Regions from separate parts of the Homo sapiens genome. Here all the other regions are linked to region 1. Evidence: promoter capture Hi-C in human tissues and cell types (Jung and others, 2019). All regions are on one chromosome and are shown on one strand. The core of a region is centred on a gene start or on the middle of the fragment in contact, and the rest is flanking DNA. Distances in the headings are between cores, read along the strand shown. Region 1 holds the start of CYP26C1 (cytochrome P450 family 26 subfamily C member 1). Region 2 has its middle 5.9 kb from the start of EXOC6. Region 3 overlaps EXOC6 (exocyst complex component 6).

Region 1 (4,365 bases), core at 571-3,070:
AAGCGGCCCAGACCTAAACTTCCTGGCTTTTGCTTTCGCCATTTCCCCCAGTTCTGCTCTGATGCACACAGTCCCTCCCAACCATCCAGGCTCCAGCTGCCATCTCCTCTAAGAAGTCTTCCCTGGCCCCTTTCTAGGTCTGAGTCTCCAGCGCTTCTGCTATCACAGCCACGGAAGATGGGAGATGAAAGAATCTTTTAGCGCAGTCCTAACTTTATAAACCGAAGCTGAAGGTAACGGACCCGCCCAAGGCCACCCGCTAGTTACCAGGGACCTTGGTCGGGTTCACAGTGTATCCAACACCGGGGCCCCGGCCTGGCCCATGGCAGATGCCGGGGACCGCGGATCCGACGTATCTACGGTCCATTCCCGTTTCCACTCACCTTGCGCCGCCGCCGGTGCGGCTCGCCGACCGCACCTAGCAGTGTGTGCGAGCCCAGCAGGATGTGCGCACTCTGCGGCCACTGGCTGCGCACCAGGCGGTGCTCGCCCAGCAGGATGGTGCGCACGTTCTCCGCGCCGCTCACGCGGATCACTGGCCTGCCCAGCAGGTGCGTCTTGAACACTGTCCCATAGCGCTCTCGGCGAGAACTGTGGAAGCGCGAGCCCTGCGGGCGAGGCGGAGGGTGGAGAGCTGGAACTTCTGGGCCTGGGCTGGGATCTGACCCAGACCTTCCAGCTGCCTTTTGATCACAACTTCCTGTCCCTGGCTGGCGCGTTTACAAAACAAGATCCCCAGTGGGCCTGGTATCTACTCTACGGGAATGTACATGCTCCTGTTCCTATTGGTGAGATGAGGAAACAGACTCAGAGTGAAGAAGTGAGGGCCCAAGGGCTCACAGCTGGGCCAAGCTCCAGGCTCCTTTTCTACCCTTGCAGGACGTGCTCCTCAGACCCCTTCCTAAAACCCCTTATGTTTACCCCCTGCGTTGTGTCTGGGAGTTGCTCTGGGGGGAATTCCAGTGACTTGAGGTCCCTTCGAGGGAACGGAGTATCTAGGTAAAGGCGAGAGTTGTGCGCGCTTCCCGGGGTCGTGGGCGATGGGCAGGGACTGGCTACAAATCCCATGGGCATTGAGACTGAGGAGGGTCCAGTGGGAGCCGGGGGAAGAAGGGACCGTATTAGCGCTCGGGGTCGAAGGACTGCTCACCTGAACTAACCAGTGCAGCGTTTCGCCGAAGAAGGGCCACCCCATGGAGCCCTTGGGCAGAGGCAGGGTGGAGGCCCGGTCCCGGCTCAGCATCCAGCGGAGGGTCCAGAGGTGCTGGGCCAGGCTGAGCAGCAGGCCCGCGCACAGGAGAGCAGTGCCCGCCGCCCCCAGCACTGACAGGCAGCTCAGCCCCCAAGGGAACATGATGAGCCCGCGGGGGCCAGGCCGCTCAGAGCGCAGGGAGAGCAGGGGACGCAAGAACCGGGGCGCGAGCAGTGCGCAGTGCTCACCTGTTCCGTCCGCAAAAGGCCTGGGGTTTGGGGGCAAAGCCCGAGATTTATAAGCTCAGGCCAGAACTCTGTTCTAAAAACAGACGGACGGTGAAAGACTGCAGTGACCGTGCGCCCTTAGGGAACGTGCCTTCCTCGAGGCCGGCACGCTCAGGACTTTTTCCTGGCTCCTGGGCCCAAATGCCAGTCCCTCTCGAAGGTGCCTGCTGCCTCGGGAACGCTCACTCCCGGCTCCGCGGGGCACCTCCCACCTCCTCCCGGGCTCAGCACCCTTTGGATAGAAGAAGGGAAGGAGGGCGAAAGAAGAGCAACTCACCAGTGTTGCCAACCTGGTCTGCAGACCCCCGCCCCACCTGTCCCTCCTCCAGTCGTTTAACCCTTCTTGGCCCACGCTGGACACGTTTATATAGATATTGGCTCCCCCCCTACGGACCGATCCCGGTTCACACAACGTGACGTGTCTTTGCATATTTAAAGCGCTCCACGCAGAGTGGTGATTGGAGGCGGTGGGCAGCGGCGCGCTCACGGAGGGGCTCTGAGTAGGGAGTGGCAGGCGCCGGGGCGGCTCGAGCTGGGCTGGGGGCTCGCCCCGCGAGCGTCCTCGGGCGGGGCCTGCGGGTTCGCGCCAGAGCTTCCCCGCTCTTCGCAGGCGCTCAGAAAGTGGGCGAACCCAACGCGCAGAACTGACCCGGGCTTGCGCCCCGCAGTGCTCCTGGCCCACCCCCGGCCGCTGGCTCCCTCTGCCGTCCCCGCCCTCGAGCTTCTAGGTGCCTTTCTCTCGCCACTCCAAGGTGAAAGAACTGGGCTTTTCTCTCCTTTGCTCCGACTATTTCAGGGAAACTGCAGTCGTCGACGCCTGCGTTGGCATCGCAAAAGCCCAGGAGGGATAGCGCAGCCGAGATTCTCCGACAGCTCCCCACCTCTCCCGGCTCTCTGATCTACCACGTCAGGTATCCTTCCAAAGATGGCAGTTCCACTACTGCCCTAGGCTTCATAAAGACGTCCTAAGCCTCCAGAAGCGGATACCCACGAGCACCTTTCCGGTCTCAAGGACCGAATTCATCCTTCCCTGCACATCCTTCCCTCCCTCCCCCGAGTTTGCCCGACGACTCTTGTCAATCTACATTGTTGCGTTTTGGGCTTTGTGCGTCCCATTCAAGGGTTCCAAATGCCTCAGGACTCACTCGTTCTTGTCCCTACAGTGCAACCTGGGGTGTGTGTGGAGGGGTGCAGGGTGTTTATATTATTGGTAAGAGTAAAGAGGTCCCACAGTGGTCTCCTCCAGGCAGTGCAAAGGCAGTATCTCTCTGAATCCCGGGACGTCTCAGCCAAAGCAGGGAAGACACCCCAAGTACGCTGGAAGGCTGGGTAAGGCGCGAAGGGCAGCCCCATTCCAGTCTTCAAAGAGAGCTAGCTGTTCACCGCTCCTCTCCTCCAGATTTCACCGTGCCTGAAGAACTACCATGCTTTTCATGTAATATTTTTAAAAACATTAAATACTTTGGATTAAGAGATGATCGAGAGAACAAGTGCGCATATGTATATATATGTGTGTGTGTGTGTGTGTGTATGTATATATACTGTTTTGGTGCCACTCCCATTCCAGTAACTAGGAAATAATATGCCTTTTCTCCAGGAAGCACTTGTTTTAAATCAGTAAGCTCTGAATAGACAAAATAGTAATGCATTTTCAACAACTTGCTCAATATTTTTAATATTTCATCACAAAATCCAGAGATGTACATATAATTCTTTACACTTATTTTACAGAATCAGGCATAGTTTCTTACAGGCCTAAATCCTGAAAAGGCAAAGGGAAGATTCAGCATAAATACAACAAAGGGAGAATAAAGACTGGATTTATATTGCCATTTGGACCACGGAAACATACACAAAGGAAAATGTACATTTGTTTTAGGTTTTCCAGAGTTCATTTGGTTTGGCTTGTTTCCACAATGAGGATAAAGTACTGAAATCTGCTATTTGAAGAAAGTAACCTGACCCCTGTGGTAACTTCTGTGTGCAGGAACCATCTACCCTCGCACAAGCTGCACCTGAAGTGGTTAGCCCCATTTAGTTCCTGTCCTCTCTTTTAACTGGAACCAAACCAAACCAAACAAATCCAGAATGGGGTCACCTACAAGCAATATAGTTAGAAATATTAACCCTGATGAACAGAAACAACACTGCATCTTTAGAAAATCCAAAACCTTTTGTTCATATTCAGAACGATTAAATTAAACCACCCAAGTAGAACAAATAATTCACATTCTTACTGAGTTAAATCAAGTTTGATTTCAGGCAGCTTTTAAGATTTGTCTATTTCCCCTTCAGAATTAGCAGAATTAGAAATTTTGGTCTGCTTAAATCACATTGAGGTGAAAATAAAAGCTAAAAGTCAGAAAATGGTAGTGAAATACTACCATATCAGACATGATTGAATTCCAAAGCCATATACTGATCAAAAAACAGATTATCATTCAAGTCTAAATAGAAAAAAATACTTATGAGTAGAGGCATATGTTTTTCAAATGTATTTGTAATCAATTTCATGTATAATTTGTGACAATTTATGTATTACACTTTTGCATTTTCCCCTAAAAGTGAAAAAATGGTCATTTTTTTCCATATATAAAATAGTATTCGATTATTTAAAAATCCATACAAATGATATTTATTACTATTTCTTGTTTAAGCCCTCATGTATCTTCTCTATTGTATTTTTGGATTCTGTAAACAAATTACTGTATCATGACCAATACTTGCTCAAGATCAACATTGAATCATGGATTTGGTGTCACTGAGTGCAAGCCATGTGAGGTCTACATGTGCTGGGACATACCATTCACCAAACTTCTCAGCTGTTTCACGACTGTCTCTATCAACTTCTGTTTGTCTCGATCATTCTTCCTGAACTGAGCAAAT
Region 2 (4,365 bases), core at 781-3,280, 220 kb after region 1:
TAAGGCTCACGTTCTTCAAGTGTGAATTAAGGACAATAAGAATCCCTAGCTCACCAAATTATGTGAGGATTAAAGAAGATAATATATGTATTATGTTTAGCCTAGAGCTCAATCAACATTAGCATTGGCGACTAGGGTTATCAGGCATTTGCTAGTAAGCCAGAGAGCCCAGCATTTTAGCCTCCTCTTTGATAAAATAAAAATAAAAACCAGACACATAAATGTTCTTTTTCCTAATCATTAAAAAAAAACCTGATTGTGTATCAGGGTTTTCTGCATGTTTGGTGGATGTAAACCAACTGAAATATGTTTCCTGCTTTTGTAGAGAGGGAAACAGGAACATGTCTTTGGGTTGGATTCTTGGTTCCAGACCCATTTTAGTGAACCCTCTGGATCCTGCGCTTTTAAGGCAAGCACCTTTCGTTGTCCTTGGGAGCAGTGCTCACTCATCCTTGGAAGCACATATCATGGTGGTGAACAAATCACTGAGTCTGTCTCCATTTCCAGGAACTGCTCCTACATCAGGCACAGGGACGATGCCTGTATTGTTCACTGCCCAGCCCAGTGCCTTGCATATAGTAGAGGCTCAATTAATAAGTGAATGATCCACATGCAAATACTTGTCGTATTAAGCTTAATGTTGTAAATGGCATGTTTTTCTTTTTTTTCCTTTTTTTTTTTTTCTGAGACACAGTCTTGCTCTGTCACCAGGCTGGAGTGCAGTGGCGCGATCTCGGCTCACTGCAACCTCCGCCCTCCAAGTTCAAGTGATTCCCCTGCCTCAGCCTTCTGTGTAGCTGGGACTACAGGCACGTGCCACCACGCCCAGCTAATTTTTTTTTTTTTTTTTTTTTTTTTGAGACAGAGTCTCGCTCTGTCGCCCAGGCTGGAGTGCGGTGGTGCAGTCTCGGCTCACTGCAGCCTCCACCTCCAAGGTTCAAGCAGTTCTCTCCCGAGTAACTGGGATTACAGGTGCCAGCCACCACGCCCGGCTAATTTTTGTATTTTTAGTAGAGACAGGGTTTCACCATCTTGGCCAGGCTGGTCTTGAACTCCTGACATCGTGATCCACCCACCTCGGGCTCCCGAAGTGCTTGGATTACAGGCGGGAGCCACCGCGACGGCCCACTCAGCTAATTTTTTGTATTTTACTAGAGATGGAGTTTCACCATGTTGGCCAGGATGGTCTCGATCTCTTGACCTTGTGATCCGCCGCCTCGGCCTCCCAAAGTGCTGGGATTACAGGCGTGAGCCACCGCGCCCGGCCAAATGCATGCTTTTAGAGGTAGGGTACACATTTACAAAAAGATTCCCCTCCTCACCCCTGGGAACCCTATCATTATCCTCGCAAAACTTTACATCATTCAAATGTTTCTTAAAGAGTTTTAGAGCTCTTGTTATAGAATTATAGAACTGTATCAAAATGTAAAGTACAGGCAGTCTTTATACATTGGCTCTGATAAACTAATCCTTCCCAGTGGCTTTTAGCCACTCGTTTCAGATGTCCACCGTCGCAGGGGCCCTCCTCCAGCTTCTGCCTTTTTGGTGTGGTGACCCCAAGTGGCCACACTCTGTAAGTGCAAGAGAATAAACAAAGCCCAGCTGGTCTGGGAGGATTCCTGCTGTAAAACCCTGTGCAGGAATCGGCTGTTCCATAAAGATCTGGACCCCACGGTGGAGAACAATAGAAGGAAATTTGAAATTGAAGCCAAATAAAATCAGTTTTTTTCTAAAATACGGGCCAGTCCTCAGAGGAGTTCAAAAGCAACTAGCCCCGGGTTTTGTTCATTCAACAACTATTTTTATTAAATGTTTGCTGTGTACCATGTTCATGTATTAAGCTCTCAGACAGGGCTGGCTCATGGTGTGTGACCTACGCAGTTGCCTTTGGTTCAATACCCTGTCATCACCATCTTGTAATTCTTAATAATTTTTGAAAAAGGAATCTACATTTTCATTTTGCCCTGGGCCCCACAAATTATGTTGCCAACCCTGCCCTCAGAAAAATGTCCTGAAAGCCCTCAAAACTAAACATTTTAAAGTCCACTGAGCAGTTAAAGAACAATATCATTTTCTCTGAGTTCCATTCTCTCTTTCCTTCAAATAACACACCCCCCACCCCACCAACTCCACCACCACCACCAGTTTATAAGACAAGCAATTGTCCCTGCTCCCTACTCTTACCTTCCTTCTCCTTGTTGGTTTTCTTATTCGTCATCCTGTTCAATGCACTCTCTATTCCTCTCTCTTTCCCTGCTTAGCCTTCCTTTACTGCCCTTTGCCCTTTCTCCCTTTCCTCTCCCTTGTCCGATTTTTCTCTCTCCTCTTGGCAAAATAGGATTTGAAATGTAGCTAATGAAATGATGATGATGATGATGATGATGATGATGATGACAGCTGACATTTACTCCCTGGCTAGGGATATTAGCATCCCTAAATCTTCCTATTCCTTACCCTTTTTTTTTTTTTTTTTTCTGAGACAGAGTCTCGCTCTGTTGCCCAGGCTGGAGTGCAATGGTGTGATCTCAGCTCACTGCAACCTCCACCTCGCGGGTTCAAGCAATTCTCCTGCCTCAGCCTCCTGAGTAGCTAGGATTACAGGCGTGCACCACCACACTCGGCTAATTTTTGTATTTTTAGTAGAGACAGGGTTTCACCATGTTGGCCAGGCTGGTCTCGAACTCCTAACCTCATGATCTGCCTGCCTCGGCCTCCCAAAGTGGTGGGATTCCAGGCGTGAGCCACTGCACCCGGCCTGGTTTTTATTCTTCATAGCACTTATTAACACTTTTTTTTTTGGTGTATTTCTGGCTCTTTTCACTAAAATACAAGCTCCCTGTGAGCATGGACTTTCCAGATCTTGATCTTGCTGTATCAACGGCACCCAGACCACTGCCTGTCACATTGTAAATGTGCCATTATTATTTATTTACTAAATGAATGAGTGAATGAGCATTTGCTATGAGACATTACATTTCATTAATACATTTCATGCCTAATTCAACTAATCCTTTCAACAGCTCTATTAGTAATTATAAAGGCAGAATTTGAACCCATATCCTTCTGGTTCCAAAACCCATTCACTTAACCACTAAATAAGCAAAACTGTCCCCCTGGTTGGAATATTTGGCTCCTAAACATAAAAATGTTTTTAAAGTTTTATCTAGTGTTGCAATAAACATCACATAGCTAATGATATCACTTAAATGTCCAGCAAAAATTGGGTAACTGTATAGCCGAGTCTCATAAGACATTCCAGGCTTTTTGGAGGTGCAACAGATGCAGCAAGCCTCTGTCACAGTTAGGCCCAAATTTATTTCTGAACAATTTCTCTGGACTCCATTTTTATGTAGAACGCTATACTATTCTCATTAGAGATTAAATCAGGTCATGATATTGCATTAGTATAAAATATAAGCATTAGTGAATGTGATTTTTCAAATTGACACCTCTCTCCCCTGCATATAATGCAACCAAAATAAAATTTACATTACTGTAAGCCAGGCACAGAAATGCAAATACTGCATGATCTCACTTATATGTAGAATCTAAAAAAGTTGAACTCAGAGAAGTCGAGAGTTGAATGGTAGTTACCAGAGGCTGAGGAGAGACATAGATGGGAAAAGGAAAGATGTTAATCAAAGATGTTAATCAAAGTTTCAGCTGGACGGGAGAAATAAGCTTTGGTGATCTACTGCACAGAATGGTGGCTATAATTAATAATAATAATATACTGCGTATTTCAAAATTGCTCAAAGTAGATTTTAAGTGTTCTCACCACAAAAAGTATGTAAGGTGATAGATATAATAATTAGCTTGATTTAATCATTCTACACTGTAAACAGACAGTGAAACGTCACGTTATACCCTATAAATAGGCTGGGTATGGTGGCACACACCTGTAATCCCAGCACTTTGGGAGGCCAAGGCAGGCGGATTTCTGGAGTTCAGAAGTTCAAGACCAGCCTGGACAACATGGCGAAACCTCGTCTCTACAAAAAATACAAAAACTAGCCAGGCATGGTGGCACACACCTGTGGTTCCAGCTACTCAAGAGGCTGAGATGGGTGGATTGCTTGAGCCCAAGAGGCCACTTGAGCCAAGACTGTGCCACTGTATTCAAGCCTGACTGACAAGAGACAGACCCTGTCTCAAAAAAAAAAAAAAGTTCTACACTCTAAATATATGCGATTATTATTTGTCAAATTAAAAAAAGTTTTAAAAAATTTACATAACTCAATATTTCACACCTGCTCAGAATTTCAAGGTGTTATGCATGATTGTTTACTTCAGGACTCTAAAGTATGTATTTATTAAGTCATACTAGAATATCCATCCCAAATGGAAACTAGACAATAATAGTCA
Region 3 (4,365 bases), core at 841-3,340, 140 kb after region 1:
TGGACAACACGGCAGTTCCCCATCTCTACAAAAAATATAAAAAAATTAGCTGGATATAGTATATACAGGCATGTGCCTGTAGTTCCAACTACTTGGGAGGCTGAAGCAGGAGGAGCATTTGAACATAAGAGTTTGAGGTTACAGTAAGCCATGATTATGCCAACTGCTCTCCAGCCTGGGTGACAGAGTAAGACCCTGTCTCAAAAAAAAAAAAAAAGAAATGCACATAGTAAACACTCAGCTGTTCACCCATTCACAAATGCAGTCATGAGCACATAGTCGTATGGTTCAACTAAAAATTCTTACTGCATCCCAATTATGTCCTTAGAAAAAGAATTTAAAATCTCATTGGCAAGGCAAAACTTATAAATTAATTGGGAATAACAAGGTTCCTATGATAGTAGCTAAATTTAAAAAAAAATTGAAAAGGACGATAAAAGGTAAGTTCAATAGAAGATTCTGTGGAGATAATTTTATTTATTTTTTTGAAATGGGCGTCTCACTCTGTCACCCAGGCTGGTATGTAGTGACATGATCACAGCTCACTGCATCCTCAACCTCCTCTGGCTCAGGTGATTCTCCCACCTCAGCCTCCCCAGTAGCTGGGAATACAGGCACTATGCCTGGCAATTTTTTTGTATTTTTTGTAGGAAAAGGGTTTCGCCATGTTGGCCAGGCAGGTCTCAAACTCCTGGCCCAAACAATCTGCCCCCCTCGGCCTCCCAAAGTGCTAGCATCACAGGCATGAGCCACGGCATCAAGCCCTGTAGAAAAAACTTTCGAAAGCAATAGGATGCCGGGCATGGTGGCTCACACCTGTAATCTCAGCACTTTGGAAGGCTGAGTGAGAGGATAATTTGAGGCTAAGATAATCTGAGTTCAAGACCAGCCTTGGTAACATAGTGAGACCTCTGTCTCTATAAGAAATTTTTTTTTTTTAATTAGCCAGGCATGGTGATAGTGTGCTTTTAGTCCTAGCTACTTGGGAGACTGAAGTGGGAAGAACACTTGGACCCAGAAGTTGCAGGCTGTAGTGAGCTATGACTGTACCACTGCACTCACGGGCAACACAGTGAGCCCTATCTCTAAAAAAAAAAAAAGAAAGAAAAAAAGAACGAGAGAATGAATTTGGATATAGAAGATGAAAGAAAGAAAATATTTAAGGATAATTTCAAGGTTTCTAGACTTACTAGAACTTTTTTTTTTTCCATTAAAAGACTAATCATAGTAGAGTTATTTTTGTAGTATTTCAGCACCAATTTTTTAAATAGGTAGACTATCCAGAATTAGGCCAAATGACAAGACATTACGAAATAAAAATCTGACAACAGGTAATTCAAATATAAGTAATCACTATAAAAATAATTAGATTTGGGCGCAGTGGCCCACACCTGTAATCCCAGCACTTTGGGAGGCCGAGGTGGACAGATCACCAGGCCAGGAGTTCAAGACCAGCCTGGCCAGCATGGTGAAACCCCGTCTCTAATAAAAATACAAAAATTAGCCAGCCGGGCATGGTGGCGCATGCCTGTAATCCAGCTACTTGGGAGGCTGAGGCAGGAGAATTGCTTGAACCCAGGAGGCAGAGGTTGCAGTGAGCCAAGATAGCGCCACTGCACTCCAGCCTGGGCGACACAGTGAGAACCCGTCTCAAAAAAAAAAAAAAGAAAGAAAAATTAGATTTACACTTTTTCTACAGATTCCACTACCAGAGATTTAGGAATATAATCTACAATCATGTTTATCTGTCAATTATCTAGCCCAACATTTCAGATGACTCCATTGTCCTAATAGCTCAATACAATCTGACTGACTTTGTCAACTTGAAATAAAAATATATACAGAAAAATTTCCTAGCAAAAAAATTTATTTGAGAATAAACAAAGAAATAGGATTAAAATCCAGGACATGCACAGACCAGGGTGGTCTCTGGCATGTCTGCAGAACAAAGGAGGTTAGGGTTTTACCGGGGAGACAGATTGTTATGCAAATTGTTTTGAAAGAAAGTTCACTGGTGAGTGTCACTAGTTGCTAGAAAGGACTTGTAATTTTGGAGTTATGGTTAGGCCCTTACAGTTTTGGATTGACCTTGTAAGATAGTTGTTTGTTTTTTTTCTTCTTTTTGAGACAAGGTCTCACTCTGTCTCCCAGGCTGGAGTACAGTGGCACAATGTCGGCTCACTACAACCTCCACCTCCTGGGTTCAAGCAATTCTCATGTCTCAGCTTCCCAAGTAGCTGGGACTAGAGGTGCCCACCACCATGCCCAGCTAATTTTTATATTTTTAGTAGAGACAGGGTTTCACCATGTTGGCCAGGCTGGTCTTAAACTCCTGCCTCAAGTGATCCACCCACCTCAACCTTGCAAAGTGCTGGGATTACCTGTGTGAGCCACTGTGCCTGGCCTGTTTTGAAACAGACAAGTGTTCACATGTAAGCGGCTAGCTGTCCTTGTAGGGCTGATGCAGTAAGCTATGGTTTCAAAAAATTTATTGTGATAGCTCCTGATACCAGGCTAATCGTCCATGACAGCCCTCCCTTCACGGCCTTCTCAGCCTCCATTTTGTCAAAGTTTGACACACTGACTCCATTTTGACTCTGACAACTTTTACAACATAAATTTATTTTGCATACAGGAAGACTAAATCACACAGATGTACATTACAATCCAAAAGAAAAAAAATTATCTAATAATAGAAAAGAAAGAAAGACACCTATCACCTCTTCTTCATTCTCATCCTCTTCTTCAAGTGAATGTTTCAATACAGTTTCATTCCTTTCCTCTGGAATTCTATCACGATTTATATACATATTTTTCCCAAATTTCATTTTATTTTGTTTCTGCAGAGAAACACTGAAGGTTTTCTGATGCTGTGCCTATTTTGAAGAGAGAGAAATTCAGATTATTTCAAAACTGATTATGGTCAAAATTGGTTCAAAAAATTTGTTCATAGTTTTTTTTTATCTTTTTAATGTCTGTAGGTATAGAATTTGTAGTGATGTCTCCTTTCTTATTCATGATTTTTGCCTTCTCATTTCCTTTTTTTAAAAAAAAAAAAAAAAAAAAAATCAGGGTCTCACTCTGTCATCCAGGCTGGAGTACAGTGGCACCATCACAGCTCACTGCAGCTTCAACCTCCCCAGGCTGCAGTGATCCTCCTACCTCAGCCTCCAGAGTAGCTGGGACTACAGGAATGCACCACCACACCCAGCTAATGTTTCTTTGTTTTTTTGTTTTTTTTGTTTTTGTATTTTTTTGTAAAATGGGGTTTTGCCATGTTGCCCAGGCTGGTCCCAAACTCCTGGCTCAAGCAATCCGCCTGCCCCAGCCTCCCAGAGTGCTAGGATTACAGGTGTGACCCACCGCACCCAGCTTCTCTTCCTTTTTAAACAGTCTTAAAATTATGTAGAACCATGTATTTCCTCAGTTGGCATATTGTGTGTTGGCAAGGGGGACTGGCCAACACTCTTTGGCCATACTCCCAACTTCCTGAATTAGCCATTAACCTCACAGAAGGAACTATAACATCAAGTTGCAAGCTTATTTTACTTCCCACTGAAAATGCCCACAGTTTGTGAAGACTAAGAATGTAGAAGCTGTTATCCCACAATTGATCATTGACAAAAAACAACATTTACACAGAATAAAAAGTTGAGAACCCTCATACTTTTAGGCATTTTAGTAATACTTCCCTATCAGAACTTCATTACCAGAAATAGAAAAAAATATAAACTTAATTCCAGGATTTTAATTTCCTTACACACTGCGAGACATTCTCTCTGTTTTGATGGGTCAGATTGTTGCTATTTTGTTCTGTTAGCACATAGAAAGGTCGTGCACTGGCTATTTTAGGTGAGTTCTCTCTAAGGCACATGTAACTGCCAATCAGCCCTTCTCTACACTTAGGTTATCAGACCATGCAAGTTGCAGTAATCTGGCTCCTCTCTTACCTAGACTTTGATCCTGGCTGCCCCCTAGAGGCTGGTACTGGAGAAAATTATTATCACTCCTGTGTATTCCCTTTCCCTCTGTGCCCAAACTAATTTTGTCAATGATTTTCTGTCCTCAGAGTATAAAATCATTTATTTAGAGTATTGTTTCCCAATTATGTTATGCACAAAACTAACAATTCACACAGTAAAAACAGATGTTCCTTGAAAAAAGGGTTCTAAGTTCAAATGAGTTATATAAATATTACATATTGTATCCTCCTCCTAGGAGATTTACAATTCATAAGTAAAGAAATCCGCTTAACTTTATTTAACTCAGGTTTCCAAAATTTATTTGACTATTTAGTCCTTTTGTTCTCCCTAGAGCAGTGGTCCCCAGGCTTTTTTTGCAGGTGGATGGTTTCAGATGAAACTG

The links. The method cuts DNA at HindIII sites, captures the fragments that hold promoters and counts their contacts. A contact is called where the count stands out against the background at its distance.
Region 2: a contact is called between a fragment that was not itself captured here and the fragment with the promoter of CYP26C1 in region 1, in 1 of the 25 tissues and cell types used here (heart right ventricle).
Region 3: a fragment that was not itself captured here is called in contact with the fragment with the promoter of CYP26C1 in region 1 in 1 of the 25 tissues and cell types used here (mesenchymal stem cells).

Annotation. Positions count from the first base shown.
Region 1 is chr10:93,058,253-93,062,617 of GRCh38, reverse strand. CYP26C1 (cytochrome P450 family 26 subfamily C member 1) reads right to left here and starts at 1,820. Exons shown (of 6, transcript NM_183374.3): 1 at 1,151-1,820; 2 at 384-608. The coding sequence starts at 1,354. EXOC6 (exocyst complex component 6) reads right to left here. Exons shown (of 22, transcript NM_019053.6): 22 at 3,128-4,365. The coding sequence ends at 4,263. RefSeq lists an enhancer at 893-1,802. The HindIII fragment of the contact is 7,111 bases long and covers 1-4,365 here.
Region 2 is chr10:92,840,470-92,844,834 of GRCh38, reverse strand. It overlaps a transcript of EXOC6 not described here. Among named protein-coding and RNA genes, the nearest start is that of EXOC6, 5.9 kb to the left of the region's middle. The HindIII fragment of the contact is 6,111 bases long and covers 1-4,365 here.
Region 3 is chr10:92,914,269-92,918,633 of GRCh38, reverse strand. It overlaps EXOC6 (exocyst complex component 6), which reads right to left. Exons shown (of 22, transcript NM_019053.6): 7 at 2,721-2,876. Among named protein-coding and RNA genes, the nearest start is that of EXOC6, 68 kb to the right of the region's middle. The HindIII fragment of the contact is 5,917 bases long and covers 1-4,365 here.